Linked DNA regions of Homo sapiens: regions 1, 2, 4 and 5 are each linked to region 3. Evidence: promoter capture Hi-C in human tissues and cell types (Jung and others, 2019). All regions are on one chromosome and are shown on one strand. Each heading gives the region's core, a stretch centred on a gene start or on the middle of the fragment in contact. The rest is flanking DNA. Distances are from core to core; before and after follow the strand shown.

Region 1 (3,214 bases), core at 652-3,151, 140 kb before region 3:
CTGAGCCCAGCCTATTATTCTTTATCATATGTTTCTTGGAAAGCTTTTGTGTGTGTGTGTGTGTGTGTGTGTGTGTGTGTGTGTGTGTGTGTGTTTTAAAATAGAGATGCATTATAATGGTTATAATTATTTTAGTTTTCCAATCCTAAATTGTTCAACATTGGTTCTCCTGTATGTTTTTCTTTAGACGCCCTCCTGCAAAACGGCCCAACTACGTTAAGCTTGGCACTCTGGCACCTTTCTGCTGTCCCTGGGAGCAGTTAACTCAAGACTGGGAGTCAAGAGTCCAGGCTTACGAAGAACCTTCTGTAGCTTCATCTCCAAATGGTAAGGAGAGTGACCTAAGAAGATCTGAGGTGCCTTGTGCTCCCATGCCTAAAAAAACTCATCAGCCATCTGATGAAGTGGGCACATCCATAGAGCACCCCAGGGAGGCAGAGGAGGTAATGGATGCAGGGTGTCAAGAATCGGCAGGGCCTGAGAGGATCACAGACCAGGAGGCCAGTGAAAACCATGTTGCTGCCACAGGGAGTCACCTCTGCGTTCTCAGGTAAGTGTCGGTGACTTCTGGGTACATTTTGGATTATTTATTTTAATATTGAAGAGGCTACAGGATGTAAGCGTTATCACTGTTTGTTTATGCAAAATCCAAGTGAATTTATAGGCTTTCTGGAAGGGAAAGCCAGTCTTTTATATTTCATAGAGGGCTCAGGGAAACAGCTTAATAATATTTGATGTAAGGCATGATGCTAATTGATGAAATGATTTACAATATTGTCATCAATAGATCCAAGCCAAGGCAGTTTTTTTTCTGACATATTTTATGCAGTTTGAGCAAGGATTCTTTGCTTTAAATTACCAAATTAGATTTCTTCTAGTTCCTTTTGAATTATATGGATTTGTGTTAGAGCAGCAACCCATTAGATGTAATATAGTCCTAGCCAGAGAGGCTACCGGATACACTATGTTCTCCTCTCAGTATTGGTGTGGGCCAGGTTCTGCTCATCAGTGACCCTGCATTCTGTGCTTTGCTCTGATTTTTTTTTTTTTTTTTTTTGAGATGGAGTCTTGCTCTGTCACCCAGGCGGGAGTGCAGAGGTGTGATCTTGGCTCACTGCAACCTCGGCCTCCTGGGTTCAAGCGATTCTCCTGCCTCAGCCTCCCAAGTAGCTGGGACTACAGGTACATGCCACCACGCCTGGCTAATTTTCACCATGTTGGCCAGGCTGGTCTCGAACTCCTGACCTCAGGTGACCCGCCCACCTCAGCCTCCCAAAGTGCTAGGATTACAGGTGTGAGCCACTGCGCCCGGCCTGTGCTTTGATTTTTAAAAAGTGCTTATCCCTCTAGCCTTGTGCTTACTTTTCCGTATAGTAGCCTCATAATTTCCTATCATTCTTTCTTACTTTACATGTAACAGTCCCTTACAGTTCCTTTACTCATTGAAATCTTAGTGGCTCTTTATTTTCACCCTCACTGTGATTACAATCCTAGATTCTATCTCACTGTCTTGTTTTCCCTGCCTTCAACTTCTTAAATCTTTAGTCCCTGAGTTTCAGAATGGCAAACACATAAAAAGAAAAATATAAGTACTAAAATGTACTACAGTGTATTTCTAATTTTTAAAAAATTGTAGTTTTGATTCTTATATAGTATAAAAGAATCAAATTAATTCTAGCAGTGTCTAATCTTCTGATTGCATATTTTTTTCTGGAACAAAATATCCTCAAACGTATGTCTCCAACTTCATGTAGGAGTAGAAAATTACTGAAGCAACTGTCAGCCTGGTGTGGGCCCAGTTCTGAGGATAGTCGGGGAGGCCGGCGAGCTCCCGGCAGAGGCCAGCAAGGATTGACCAGAGAGGCTTGCCTGTCCATCTTGGGCCACTTCCCCAGGGCCCTGGTTTGGGTCAGCCTGTCCCTGCTCAGCAAGGGCAGCCCCGAGCCTCACACCATGATCTGTGTCCCAGCCAAGGAGGACTTCCTCCAGCTCCATGAGGACTGGCATTACTGTGGGCCCCAGGAATCCAAACACAGTGACCCATTCAGGAGCAAGATCCTGAAACAGAAAGAGAAGAAGAAAAGGGAGAAGAGGCAGAAGCCAGGACGTGCCTCTTCTGATGGCCCGGCGGGGGAAGAGCCCGTGGCTGGGCAGGAAGCTCTGACTCTAGGGCTGTGGTCAGGCCCTCTGCCGCGTGTGACGTTGCACTGCTCCAGAACTCTCCTAGGCTTTGTGACTCAGGGAGATTTTTCCATGGCTGTTGGCTGTGGAGAAGCCCTGGGGTTTGTTAGCTTGACAGGCTTGCTGGATATGCTGTCCAGCCAGCCTGCAGCGCAGAGGGGCTTAGTGCTACTGAGGCCTCCCGCCTCTCTGCAGTATCGATTTGCGAGGATTGCTATTGAGGTGTGAATGCGTGCTTGTATCCCAGCAGGGCATAGATAATACGTTATTATTGTCTGCCAAGTTCTACATGTGGAGAATCTGCTTCTGCTTTAAAATATCATGTGAAACTCCCTGGAAACAAGAATAAAAAATTATGTATTATGCAGATGATGAAATGTTTACATCATTCCAGTAATGTCATTGATTTTCATCTTTCCCTGTCCTTGCTGTAATACTTTTAAATTATTTGGCCAAAAGCTTTGTATTATGATCTCTTGGTCTGTGTAGTTGTGGCTGAAAATAATGAGAAGCTCTACGAGTTATCATCCCCTTTTTTTGTTAGAAACAAAGGGCTTGTCAGGTCTATTTGAAAAACCTCATAGTCATGTGATAAGCAACAATAGATGTTTAATGATTTCACTGTTATAGCAGAAGACAAGAGAAGACGCTTGGCCTCTGTACATGAAATATGGGCTCCTGATGGACCTCATTCAATTCTGTACTGTGATTTCCATGCCGAACAACTCAAGCCTTAAAGAGAGAAATCATGGACAACTGATTTCTGCCTGTTTTCAGGCAGGCACAGTTTATGGCGTCAGTGCTAGGCTGGAATTAGAAAGTGGGGGTCTATGACGTGGACTTCCTGACTCTTTGATCTCTTTGTTGTTGACCAACACTTGATCCTACTAGTTACTTAATTTTTTTAAGTAAAAAATTATTATTATTTTGTTTCTGCAAAGATTTTCTCAAAGCCATAGAGGAGCATTTCTCAGAATATGTTCTATGATATGTGTCACCTAAAAAAGTAAGAGATTCCAAGGTCAGGTTGATA
Region 2 (3,016 bases), core at 162-2,661, 150 kb after region 3:
GGTTTTTAATATATTCAGAGTTCTGCAACCATCACATAATCAATTTTAGAACAATTTCATCACCTCCCCCAAAAATCCTGTCCCCATTATTTTATTCCTTTTTATTGCTAAATCATATTCCCCAGAATGGATATACATTTCATTTATCCATTCATCAGCTGATGGATGCGTTTAGCTAATAGACTGTCACTGTCAAATAGAAATGTCACGCAAACTACAAATGTGAGCTACATATATAATTTTATATTTTCTAGTAGCCACATTTTTTAAAAGTAAAAGAAAAACAGATGAAATTAATTTTAATAATATATTTCCACCAAACATATCCAAAATATTATTATTTCAACACATAATAAATATAAAAGATTATTGAGATATTTTACTTTTTTTGTATTTTTTTGTATTTTCACAGTAAAATATCGTATGTCATATCTTTTCTCATTTGTTCTTAATTTAGCTATTTTATTATGTTTTATGCATCCTTCTTTGTAAATTGCCTTAATTAAAAATGGAAAATGCTGATGGCCTCAAGAAGAAAACTGCTGACAAAAAGAAGATAAGCTTTTCACTCGGAGCATGCAGATAGTGAACTGATTTGAGGAACTGAATATAAACCTGTCTCCTCAGAAGCTGTTGCCAACTCTCTACCTACCTCTCTCTGCCCCTTTTTCCCCAACACCTAACCTCAGCAAGCCTCTGCAGACATCACTATTTCTAGATATTTATTAAACAGTAGAATTGAGTACAGCCGAGTGTGACCAGTATCTAAAGGCACCAGAAAATAGGCTAGCTCCAACTGGTGTTAATTTATCTGGAAAACATTCAGTGATTTGGGAAAACAAAAACAAAAACAGACCACATGATTCCATGACCTCTCCTAAACTGCAGGGCAGAGAGAGTAAGCAAGACAAACTACCCTCACTGCTTTAATTGTGTAATGAACTTTCTCAGACACCGAAAGGTATGCTAGACATTCTTTCTCATCTCTGTCTTTATATATGCTTTGCCCTCCTCAAAGTGCCTTTCTCCCTTTCCTGCCTTACATGCCTCAAGACTCAGTTCAAATATCTCATTAGTGAAGACTTCCTCTATTCCTACTCCTGCAGGGCTTTGTTTACATCTTTCTTATTGCAATGACCACACGTGGGTGTCCATGCCTGTACCAGGCTATAAGCACCAGCTCTTGGGTAGGAACAAAGCTGCCTTTATTTCTGTATTTCACACTTAGCTTAGACACTGGCACACAGTTGGTGCTTAATAGATGCTTGTTGATGAGTAAAGAAAGTGCAAGTCATGGGTACTCATGGGTGCCAGGTAGTGTTTGAAGGGTTTTCTGTGCATCTCTCATTTACTTTTCATAACCCTCTGAGGTTGTCTCTGCTTGATAAAGAAGGTAAGACTTCTGATCATTAGAGAAATGCAAATCAAAACCACTGAGATACCATCTCACATCAGGCAGAATGGCTATTACTAAAAAGTCAAAAAATAACAGATGCTGGTGAGGTTGCGGAGAAAAGGGAATGCTTATATACTGTTGGTGAGAGTGTAAATTAGTTCAACCATTGTGGAAAGAGCTAAAAATAGAACTACTATTTGACCCAGCAATCCCATTACTGGGTTTATATGCAGAGGAATATAAATCATTCTACCATAAAGACATATGCACGCAAATGTTCATTGCTGCATCACTCACAATAGCAAGGACATGGATTCAACCTAAATGCCCACCAATGACAGACTGGACAAAGAAAATACAGTATATATACACCATAGAATACCATGCAGCCATAAAAAAGAATGAGATAATGTCTTTTGTGAGGACATGGATGGAGTTGGAAGCCATTATCGTTAGCAAACAAACACAGGAACAGAAAACCAAATACCACATGTTCTTGCTTATAAGGGGGAGCTGAATGATGAGAACACATGGACACATAGAGGCGAACAACACACACTGGCGCCTACTTCAGGGTGGAGGGTGGCAAGAGGGAGAGGAACACGAAAAATAACTATTGGGTACTAGGCTTAGTACCTGAATGATGAAATAATCTGTACAACAAACCCCCATGACATATGGATTTACCTATGTAACAAACCTTCACATGTGTCCCCAAACCTAAAATAGAAGGTTAAAAAAAGAAGGTGAGACTTATAAAAAGGATTAAGGAACTCACTCATGGCCATGCAGTAAGTTAGGCAGCAGAGCTTCAAAGATACCTACCTTTGAGGACTTCCAATCTGTAAAAGATATAATCTTTCTTATATTTTTATAACAACCTCAAGAACTAAGGAAATGAATTGACTTCTAATTGGACAGAGTAAGGATAGGCCTTTTCTGTCAGAAGAAATTGTTTTCTCTCAGGCAAGTTAGAAAAGAATACCACAGACAAATATTGCATGTATTTGTATATATCGTATTGCATATATACTATATATATATATAGTATCTATATATTGCAATACTATATATAGTATCTATATATTGCAATACTATATATAGTATCTATATATTGCAATACTATATATAGTATCTGTATATTGCAATACTATATATAGTATCTATATATTGCAATACTATATATAGTATCTATATATTGCAATACATTATGTTGCATGTATTTGTATATATTTGTAAAATATATACAATATTATATATATGTTTGCTATCATTGCTGTGGATGAATGTCAGGGAACTGAGCAAGGCACCAGGATTCATTGAACAAGATTAAAAAACTAGCAACCCATTAGATTACTCTGAAATTGAAATAATTTTACATTAAGAACTTTGTATGTAACTAACCTGCACATTGTGCACATGTACCCTAAAACTTAAAGTATAATAATAATAATAATAATAATAATAATAAAGCAATATAAACTGAAAAAAAAAAAGAACTTTAAAAACATTCTGCTTGGACTTTTTTGACTGCCTGACACATTCAAATTCAAATCAAACTCCAAATCACTACTTACTTGTTAAAGCAATTAATTTACTCTCAGAATCAAAAAGCTTTGC
Region 3 (2,924 bases), core at 1-2,500:
CTTGAAAACTAATAAAGTGAACATGCTTATTTATCTTACTTATTCTTTATACAAATATATTCTCTTCTGCATTCAGAAATTAATATTTAGAACACTTCAGGCATAAAAGGAATCCAGATCTTTGATAATTGGTTAAACTCTCCGATTTAGGACAACAGCAACAAATATTTTCTGATTATATTGTTGCAAAAATAAAAGTATCCATGGTTTTGTTAAAGAACAAGAACAAAGTAACACATTTAATGAAAACAGGAGGAAGCCTGGAATCCACCGTGATAAAACTTAGTTGCAATATGAACGCTGCTAGAGGAAGGGCTGGCCAGAACACTTCCTCATCTTAAACCAAGCCAAAAATAAATGGGCGGCTCCAAGTCCCTTTGATTTTGTTAAATGTATATTTCCAGTGTAAACTGGCGTTGTTTAAGTTAACAAAGTTTTCCCAAAGGGCCGGTGGGAAAGAATGAGAGTCCTGCAAATGCAACCTGAGAAAATGTGTTCCTCGCACGGAAATGGAAGAGCTGTGTTGAGATACCAGGGACACACGCAGGGCATCTGCGCGAGGTGACATTAGGCTGCCCTTAATGAGTTTTCTGCTTCTGATAACAGGGTGTCACTTTTTTCTTTTCTTTTAACTGTAAAAGGATCCTGGGGTGAAAATGAGTGAATTGCCCCCACACTCCTAGATTCCTTCCGGGAGAAGAGGGCGGACGCAGGCTGGGGAGGCGGGATCGGGACCCGGAGGTCCCAGGAACGGGTGGCTGAGGTCAAGGCCGAAGACCTGGGCGCCCACTCCCAGTGCCGGGTGCCCGGGAGAGGAAGACTGGGCGGACCCCCGCGCTTCCGGATGAGGCGGACTTAGGTCAATGCGGGAAACATTGCATGTCACCTCTTCCCACTCGGAGAGGCCGGGTGTCTTCCTGAGAGCTGGCAGGAAAGCGGCCGAGGCGCAGAGGCGCCCGGAGCCAGCCGCCCTGGCCGCGTCCCCACCGGGCTGCGGTGGCTGCGGGGCGGCCCTTACCTGGTTCCTGCGGTACCAGTCGCCCGAGAGGGAGCCGTTGCCGGCGCCTGGTGCCCCGTACGTGAAATTCAGTGACAGCTCGTCCAGGGCGGCCGAGGCGGAGTCCCCGGGGCCCGCGGGCGCCACCGCTGCCATGAGGTCTCGCTCCCGGCGCTCGGGCTCCGGCTCGGGCTGCGGCCGCCTCCCCGCCCTGTTGCACCGCGAGGAGGCCGCGCCGCAGCCACTTCCTGCTCGGTGCCCGGGCGAGGCGGGCGCGCCGAGGCCACCTGGCTCCCGCCCCCGCGCGGCCGTAGGTGCTCCCAGCCTGGCCGGGCGCTGCCTCCTCTCCTCCTCCGGTGCGAGGTGTCCTCGGGGAGCCCGGCGGTCTGCGGCCTCCCGGGGCCGTCCAGCTCGCACCGCGCCCTCCTTCCGCTGGGCCAGTGTCTGCATCCTCGGGGCCGCACTGCCCAAGGGGGCAATCCCCGCGGCCGTCCGCAACGGGTCCCCGCGCCTGTCGGGGCCAGAATCAGATCATCTCCGTTGTAAACATTTGTCCAAGTCAATGGAAGAGGAGGAGACACTGACTAACCCAAAGCAGCTATCATCTCCCATCTCTACCTGGCAATTCCAGTCCTCTATCACATATGTAGTGTTTCTCACCGATATTTTAAAAATTGATTGCATATGAAAAAGTCATGAGTTCCCAGAAATATTGTAAGCAATATGAGAAAAAAAGATCCGAGCGATTGAATCTCAGTGCCAGTGCTTGATAGATCCTTAGTAAATATTCCTTGAATGAGGAATGTGGTAGCCATAGGACCCCAGTGTGCGATGACTGGATTGGGTTTGCTTCAGATGGGATCAGGTGGAGTTGCTGAAAAGTTGCCAGCTACTGTATATATGAATTTAGGATGAAAGATAAATGTTGTTATTAATCTTAAGAACTCTAACGAGATGTTCTGGTTTTACCTGTATTCAAATTCTAATGTGTGACCACAAATGATCTGTAGGGTATTTCTCACTTTAAAAAAACCATGATTCTATACTGTTGCCTGAAGGCTGATAGTTGCCTTCTTTTGTTTACACAATGCTGAGGTTTTTCTTAGATAATGTGCTTTGACTTCCATGAGTTCATGAAAGAGAGACCTTCAAGAAAAGAGAATTGCTGCCTAGAAGGGAGCAGGGACAGTTTTCAGTGTTTCTTAGGGGAAATGTGCAAATGAGAGAAAAGAGTGAGAAAAAGTCATTTCACATACAGAAAAAACAAGACATGTCGTCTCAGAAATTGTGTAGTTTCTTGCTTAAGCACTCGAGATGTTCAGTGAACAGCTAACAATTGTAGGTAACTATTCCCAATTTTAAGAGGCTGATTTACTTCAAATAAATATCTGAAGGAAAAAGGTCTCTATTTGTTATATTACATTTTATTTTATTTTTTGAGACAGGGTCTTGCTCTGTTGCCCAGGCTGGAGTGCAGTGGTGTGATCTTGACTCACTTTAGCCTCATATTCCTGGGCCCAAGTGATCCTCCCACCTGGGACTACATACAGGTGCATGCCACCATGCCCAGCTAATTTTTTTTTTTTTTAGATAGAGTCTCTCTCTCTTGCCCAGGCTGCAGTGCAGTGGCACAATCTCAGCTCACTGCAACCTCTGCCTCCTGGGTTCAAACAATGCTCCTGCCTCAGCCTCCTGAGTAGCTGGGACTACACGTGCACACCACCAAGCCCGGCTAATTTTTGTATTTTTAGTAGAGACAGGGTTTCACGGTGTTGGTCAGGCTGGCCTCAAGCTCCTAACCTCCAGTGATCCCCCTGTCTTGGCCTCCCAAAGTGCTGGGATTACAGGTGTGAGCCACCACACCTGGCCCTGGCTAATATTTTTCTATTTTTTTGTAGGGACAGGGTCTCGCAATTTTTCCTAGGCT
Region 4 (3,054 bases), core at 454-2,953, 180 kb after region 3:
TGCCATTTACAAACATTCCTGCTGCACCCATCTTCTACACCCCCTGTTGTAATGAATTCGCATACCTGCCTCCGATTACAGGCTGGATTGCCCCAAAGTAGTCTTCTCAGAAACCTATCTACACAGTTAGCTTCTTTCTCTTGTGCATCTTCAAACTCTCTTTGTCTTTAGCATCAACATGATATACTTTCTGATATTTCCCATCTTAAACTTTTATTGTTTTTTCTTATCTCAAGAAAACCCTGCCTTGACTCACGGCCATTCCTCCAGTTGTCACAATTCCATCCCTCTTCTCCTTTAGAAAGTCAAACTTCTCAAAGTATGGAGAAAACAATAACCATATTTTAAATTGGCAATCAAACTTCAACTTGCTCCATACTGGCTTCTGATCCCCTAATGCTCTCCAAATTCCTCTTGTTAGGTCGCCAAAGTTAAATGAATTCTTTTTAGTTTCTATCTTATTTGGCCCCTCCAGCTGTACTTGATACTTTGTCCACACCTTTCCTTCTTGAAACCTCCCTCTCTTGGCTCCTACAACACCATGCTCTCTTTTCTCCTAAATTTATGGCCATTTCTCAATCTCCTTTATTGGCTTCTTCTCAACTACTAAATGTTAGAACTACTCAGGACTCTGGGCTTTTACTATATACTCCATTTCCTAGGCAGTCTCATACATGCCCTGGGCTTTAAATACCATCTATCTGATAGTATCTCTAATATAGATCTGTCTTCTGAGTTCCAGAACTTAGCAATTCTATTAGATGTCTCCTGGGTATTGCAATACTCAGTAAGTTCATATCTGACAGAGACCTTCTAAACTGTTTATCTTTTAACCTTTCCTATTTCACTAAATGGCTCTTCCACCATCCAACTAGTTGCAAATGCTAAGAACCTACCATATTCAAATGTTGCCATGCCTTGTGGTGTTCATACTACTTACCAAGATATGTCAAATCGATGTCCTCCTCTTCATCTGCTGTCATCTCCCCAGTCAAAGCCCTCTTATCTTGAGCACACTGTTTCAATAGCTTCCTAACTAGTTTCCTTCTATCTTTGCTCCCCTCCAATTCACTCTCCATACAGCAGCCAGAATTATTGTTTAAAAATGTATACTGGGTCATGTCCTGCCCCTAAGATACGGAAATGGCTCTTTCTTGCATATGAAATCCAAATGCGGCCTTGCCTGAATCTAATCCTGCCTAGGTCTGCAGCTTCAGCTTGTGCTACTCTAGCCATTACTCCTATGTTTCCATCATGACTGATTCTCTTTCAGTTTCTCAGATTCACCAAGCTCTTTGCATGTGAATTGGGAGTAAAATCGTCCAAAAATTAAGAGGTTAGGATTAAATGATTACATGCCTTTCCTTTGCTTAGAATGTTGTTCCACACTCCCCACTTTGGCTTCAAGACTTTGTTAACACAGTTCTGTCTACTGAGAGTGTCCTTTCCCTCATCTCTGCCTGATGAAGTTCTATTCATCTTTAGGACTGATCTTAAATGTCATCTTCATAAAGTCTTCCTGGTCAAATTTTCCCTGTAAGCATACTGAGTTACTTTTTTCTCCATATACCTAAAGATAATTTTGCATATGTCTCTGTTATAACATTTATCACCGTACTGCAATCATTTTTTAAATTTCTGCCACATTAGAACTGTACAATATGAGATACGTGAATATAGGACTGGGCCTTCTTTAGATCCCCAAATTTAGCAGGTGCCTAACATCATCCAATCTGTCACCCATTAATATTGCTTTAAGAATAAGAGCCATCTTACATGGCAACAACCACTAGTGAAGATTGTATTTATTAACTTGTTAGTGTTTGTCATCACGGTGACATACACATATTCAGAAAAATGAGTCAATATTAATAATTAAAGACGTTACTGTGATGAAGTTTCCTGAAATCTGAGCTCATCTGTATACCCATATCCAATGACTTGAATGTCTCAATCAATTCATTGGCTAGCACAATTCTCAAGCCTTATTAGGGACCATAATTTCTATGGTTGACATCTTAATGCTGAGTAGGAGCCGGAAGCTTTGTGGACTCTCAGGTTCATGCACCTGAAAGTCCTGTGCTTAAGTGTGTGCATGATCTTGCTCAGAAGCACCAAGAACAGGGGTGAGAAGAGAGAATGTAGAACATCCATTGTTATACAAGAGGCAGTGACAACAGAGATGGCCTATTTAACTTACTTCAAAAGCCTTTAATTCTCAAGCACCAGGAAAACAATTTTAGAGCTGACTACAATAGATCTTTTGCTAGACTGTTCTGAAGACTAGTTTTTTAGAAAGTAAAACCATATTACCAGAATATTAATCCACAATAAGGTTGAATACAATTTGTTAAAGAACAGACTCCATGTACTATTACAAAAATGAGGTCTGACCTGAAACACCATCCATTTGAAATATTTAAAAATAAAAATAGACAACTCTCTTAAGGAGGTTTTTTAAAGCATCATCTGATATCTACGCTATGATAAAAGTCAGCATCAAGTTTAAAGAAGTGAAACAAAACACTGTCACCATGCCCCTATGAGCTAAAACTTTGAGAATTATAAATGGCGGATTTAACAATGATAACCTTTCCATTCTTTTGCCAGACGCGAAACAAATTATGCTAGTTCCTCCTCTAGAATTTCTTGCTTTTTCTGCCTATGACCTTCTCAGCTCACCCACAAGCAGCACCATTCATTGACTGAACTGTTATTTGACAGTTTGTCATAATCAAATACGGTAAGCAGAGTATCACGATGTTCTAGTTCACTTTAAAGCAAACTATTTAGGACTATAAATTCCATCTAGGCCTTAGATACACTTCAAGGCAAAGGTAGGGATACTGGGCAGAGAAAACACCAAGATTTGACTTTTACTCCAACATGTACCTAAGTGTAGACTGGAAGTTTGTATTCAAAACATTGGGGGAGAAAAGTTTAATGTTACCTGTGTATTCAACATATAATATCCTCTGTTTTATCCAGATAATTCATCAAAATCAGAGGCATGCAAGGAAGGTGAGAATCAGGCTGTGATTTGCTTACAGATAT
Region 5 (2,930 bases), core at 176-2,675, 200 kb after region 3:
GAGTGTGTTAGAAGTATATTTAATTCTGTGAAGTTGGAATAGGAAAGAGAACATGGGGGAGAACTAAGTTAATCTAGAAGAGGTGTGAAATTGGAGAAAGGCCTAAAAATCAAATGCAAATATGCTGAAGATAGTAATAATTTTAAAAAGGAAATAGTTTAAAGAAAGGGAACAACATTCAGTGTGGTAAAGAAGTGGTATTAAAAATAGTGTTTTGTATTTTTTTTTGGCAGGAATGGAATGGATTTTATGGTTAGATAAATCAAGAAGACCTACAATGGCAGTTAAGATTTGAAATTGCTAGATATTTGGCAAGAGAACTGATAAAAAGAGAGGGGAGTAATTATCAGGTGTCACCCACACCCTGAAGGCTGCACCCACTCTTATCCTCTAATTCCTTTGACCCAGAGTAACACTTCTCCCTCTTCCTGTCCAGATGTGGTTTCTCTACTAGTGCTCTAGGTCCCATCCCCTCCTCTTTCCTTAGGAACTTCATTCCATTGACTATCTTCAGTCAATCCTCCAATTCCTGCCATTAGCTCTTTCAGCATATAAAAATCATCAAGTATGCCAGGCATGGTGGCTCACACCTGTAATCCCAGCACTTTGGGAGGCCAAGGCGGGAGGATTGCCTGAGCCCAGGAGTTTGAGACCGGCCTGGGTAACATAGTGAGACCCAACTCTACATTTTTTTTTTTTTAATTTGCCAGGCATGGTAGTGTGCACCTGTAGTCCCAGCTACTTGGGAGGATGAGGCAGGAGAATTGCTTGAGCCCAGGAGGTCGAAGCTGCAGTGAACTGTGTCTGTGCCACTGCATTTCCATCCTGGGCAATAGAGCAAGACCCTGTCTCAAAAAAAAAAAAAAAAATCATCAAGCGTTTCATATCTAAAAGCAATATAAAATAAAATAAAAAGTTTCTTTAATCTTATGTTCTCCTTTAACTATTATATCTCTTCTTTTCACAAGCAACTTCTAGGAAGAAGTCTACTTCTTCCCTCCTTGATTCACTTCCCGCTCTGAAGCAGTCTGGCTTTAGGCGTCACCATCTCATGGAGGCTGCTTCACTTAAAAGCAACATTGATCTCCTTAACACCTTATCCAATCTTCGGGTTTTAGCTCTCCTATGATTCGATCTTGCTGAAGCTTTTTACACATTCATTTCCTCTTTCTTGAAATGTTCTCCTCCCTCAGTATCTAAGATGTCACATTCCTTTCTCTGTTGTTGCTCCACAGGGACCCATCTCAGTCTAATATTATTCTCCCTCTATACTGATGACTTGAACTATACCAATTAAAAGATGACTCACAATCCAGAAATCTCTAGCCCAGATCTCTGTGGAACTCCAATTCTGGTTATGTCTAAGAAGCATCTCTTTCTGAATGTCTGATGGTACTTATATAACCAAAATGAATTCATCATATTCCACCTTAAAAAGTCACTATTCCTTAAATTGAATGGATCCACCAACCCCTCTTCTCTCCTTCACCTAGTTATTCAGGTAATCTGGGACTTATCTGAGATCTTCCTTTTCTCTTACTTCCCAGATCTAATCACTAAGGACTAGAGATTCTCTCAAAACTGTCCCCTAATATCAATTTCATTGCTTTTGTTCATTTCTCATTTGGACTATGTCATATTGCAACAATCCCCTTAATGATTTCTCTACTTCCAATCTCAATTTTTTGCAATTCTGTTTCAAGAGGTCAGCTTGCTGTAATTTTTCAATGGCTTTCAGTTATCCATAAGCCCAACTCCCAACCTCCTTGTAAGGTATAAACGCTGCTGCCTACTCTCCAGCCTCATTTCTACCACTTTCCAACTCAATTTCATGCTCTAGCAACACTGAACATGCTTTCTTATGGCTAGTCCTTCTGTAAATACTGCAGCACCATTTTTTCCACTTGTCTATCTGGTACATTCTTACTCATTCTTAGGTATCTGTTTAAATGCTAACTTCTCTAACAGCATCCCTTTTCTCTCAGGTGAACTTTGGTGTTCCTTATATATTCCTAACTGTAGTTTTGAAGACTCTTCCATTAAACAATGATCTTATTGCATTATAATTGTTTGCATGGGCATCTTAACTTCTTAACTGGCTTAGATTAGGGAATTAAAATAGACATTGGCTGGGCACAGTGGCTCACACCTGTAATCCCAGCACTTTGGGAGGCTAAGGTGGGTGGATCACTTAAGACCAGGAGTTCAAGGCTGCAGTGAGCTATAATGGTGCCACTGCACACTAGTCTAGGTGACAGAGTGAGACCCTGTCTCAAAAAAAAAAAAAAAAAAAAAAAAAAGAGAGAGAGAGATTATGAAAACATTTACTGGGAGACCTAACCCATTTTTTGCTTCAGGAAACCAATCTTAAACAGTGCCAAGAAAGGCAAGCCAAAGACAGTGGATGAAGACAGTGGTGGTGATGCTGGAAAAGCCCAGGCAAACTGAAGCACAGCTACTGTGGAAGAGAGAACAGCAGGAAAAAACTGGAGAGACACCAGGAGCCCAACTGTGAAGGGACTGCTAAGAGAAGGTTCAGCTTTGTGCTTCCAGTCACTGATTCAAACTTTCTTCATGAATCCAACCACTAAATTAAACACCAGCTTTCTAAAAGCTGCACATTCTCATACTATAAAAGAAAATATATTTCAAATAAAATACTTTCCAGGCTTTCCAGAAGAAAAAATCCATCCCATGTCACCCACTGTGACTAAGCACGGAGGAAACAGATTAAATTAGGGATATTTTGCCCGTACATCTCCAGGCTGCATGAAATGAAAACAAATGAGAGTCAGGACTCTCAAAAGTTTCACAGTTCTAACCATCAACGCAATGTGCCAAGCAACATAGTAAATGTTCACGTTTCAAACAGGAGGAATACATTTTACCTTTTCTATCTGGGATAGAAGATTAGATTCTAATCTTTTTTG

Evidence for each region. The method cuts DNA at HindIII sites, captures the fragments that hold promoters and counts their contacts. A contact is called where the count stands out against the background at its distance.
Region 1: a contact is called between a fragment that was not itself captured here and the fragment with the promoter of NIPAL2 in region 3, in 4 of the 25 tissues and cell types used here (H1 embryonic stem cells, dorsolateral prefrontal cortex, mesendoderm cells and 1 more).
Region 2: a fragment that was not itself captured here is called in contact with the fragment with the promoter of NIPAL2 in region 3 in 2 of the 25 tissues and cell types used here (H1 embryonic stem cells and mesendoderm cells).
Region 4: a contact is called between a fragment that was not itself captured here and the fragment with the promoter of NIPAL2 in region 3, in 1 of the 25 tissues and cell types used here (thymus).
Region 5: a contact is called between a fragment that was not itself captured here and the fragment with the promoter of NIPAL2 in region 3, in 2 of the 25 tissues and cell types used here (IMR-90 fibroblasts and aorta).

What each region holds. Positions count from the first base shown.
Region 1 is chr8:98,155,863-98,159,076 of GRCh38, forward strand. It overlaps POP1 (POP1 ribonuclease P/MRP subunit), which reads left to right. Exons shown (of 16, transcript NM_001145860.2): 15 at 188-550; 16 at 1,755-3,214. The coding sequence ends at 2,409. Among named protein-coding and RNA genes, the nearest start is that of NIPAL2-AS1, 19 kb to the right of the region's middle. The HindIII fragment of the contact is 5,544 bases long and covers 1-3,214 here.
Region 2 is chr8:98,445,120-98,448,135 of GRCh38, forward strand. It overlaps a transcript of STK3 not described here. Among named protein-coding and RNA genes, the nearest start is that of KCNS2, 20 kb to the left of the region's middle. The HindIII fragment of the contact is 4,082 bases long and covers 1-3,016 here.
Region 3 is chr8:98,292,985-98,295,908 of GRCh38, forward strand. NIPAL2 (NIPA like domain containing 2) reads right to left here and starts at 1,251. Exons shown (of 11, transcript NM_001321635.2): 1 at 1,019-1,251. The coding sequence starts at 1,153. The region is part of intron 5 of LOC105375659 (a long non-coding RNA gene); the gene reads left to right. RefSeq lists a silencer at 771-1,490. The HindIII fragment of the contact is 9,267 bases long and covers 1-2,924 here.
Region 4 is chr8:98,473,203-98,476,256 of GRCh38, forward strand. All of the region lies in intron 10 of STK3 (serine/threonine kinase 3), which reads right to left. Among named protein-coding and RNA genes, the nearest start is that of KCNS2, 48 kb to the left of the region's middle. The HindIII fragment of the contact is 3,817 bases long and covers 1-3,054 here.
Region 5 is chr8:98,492,381-98,495,310 of GRCh38, forward strand. The region is part of intron 10 of STK3 (serine/threonine kinase 3); the gene reads right to left. Among named protein-coding and RNA genes, the nearest start is that of KCNS2, 67 kb to the left of the region's middle. The HindIII fragment of the contact is 3,282 bases long and covers 1-2,930 here.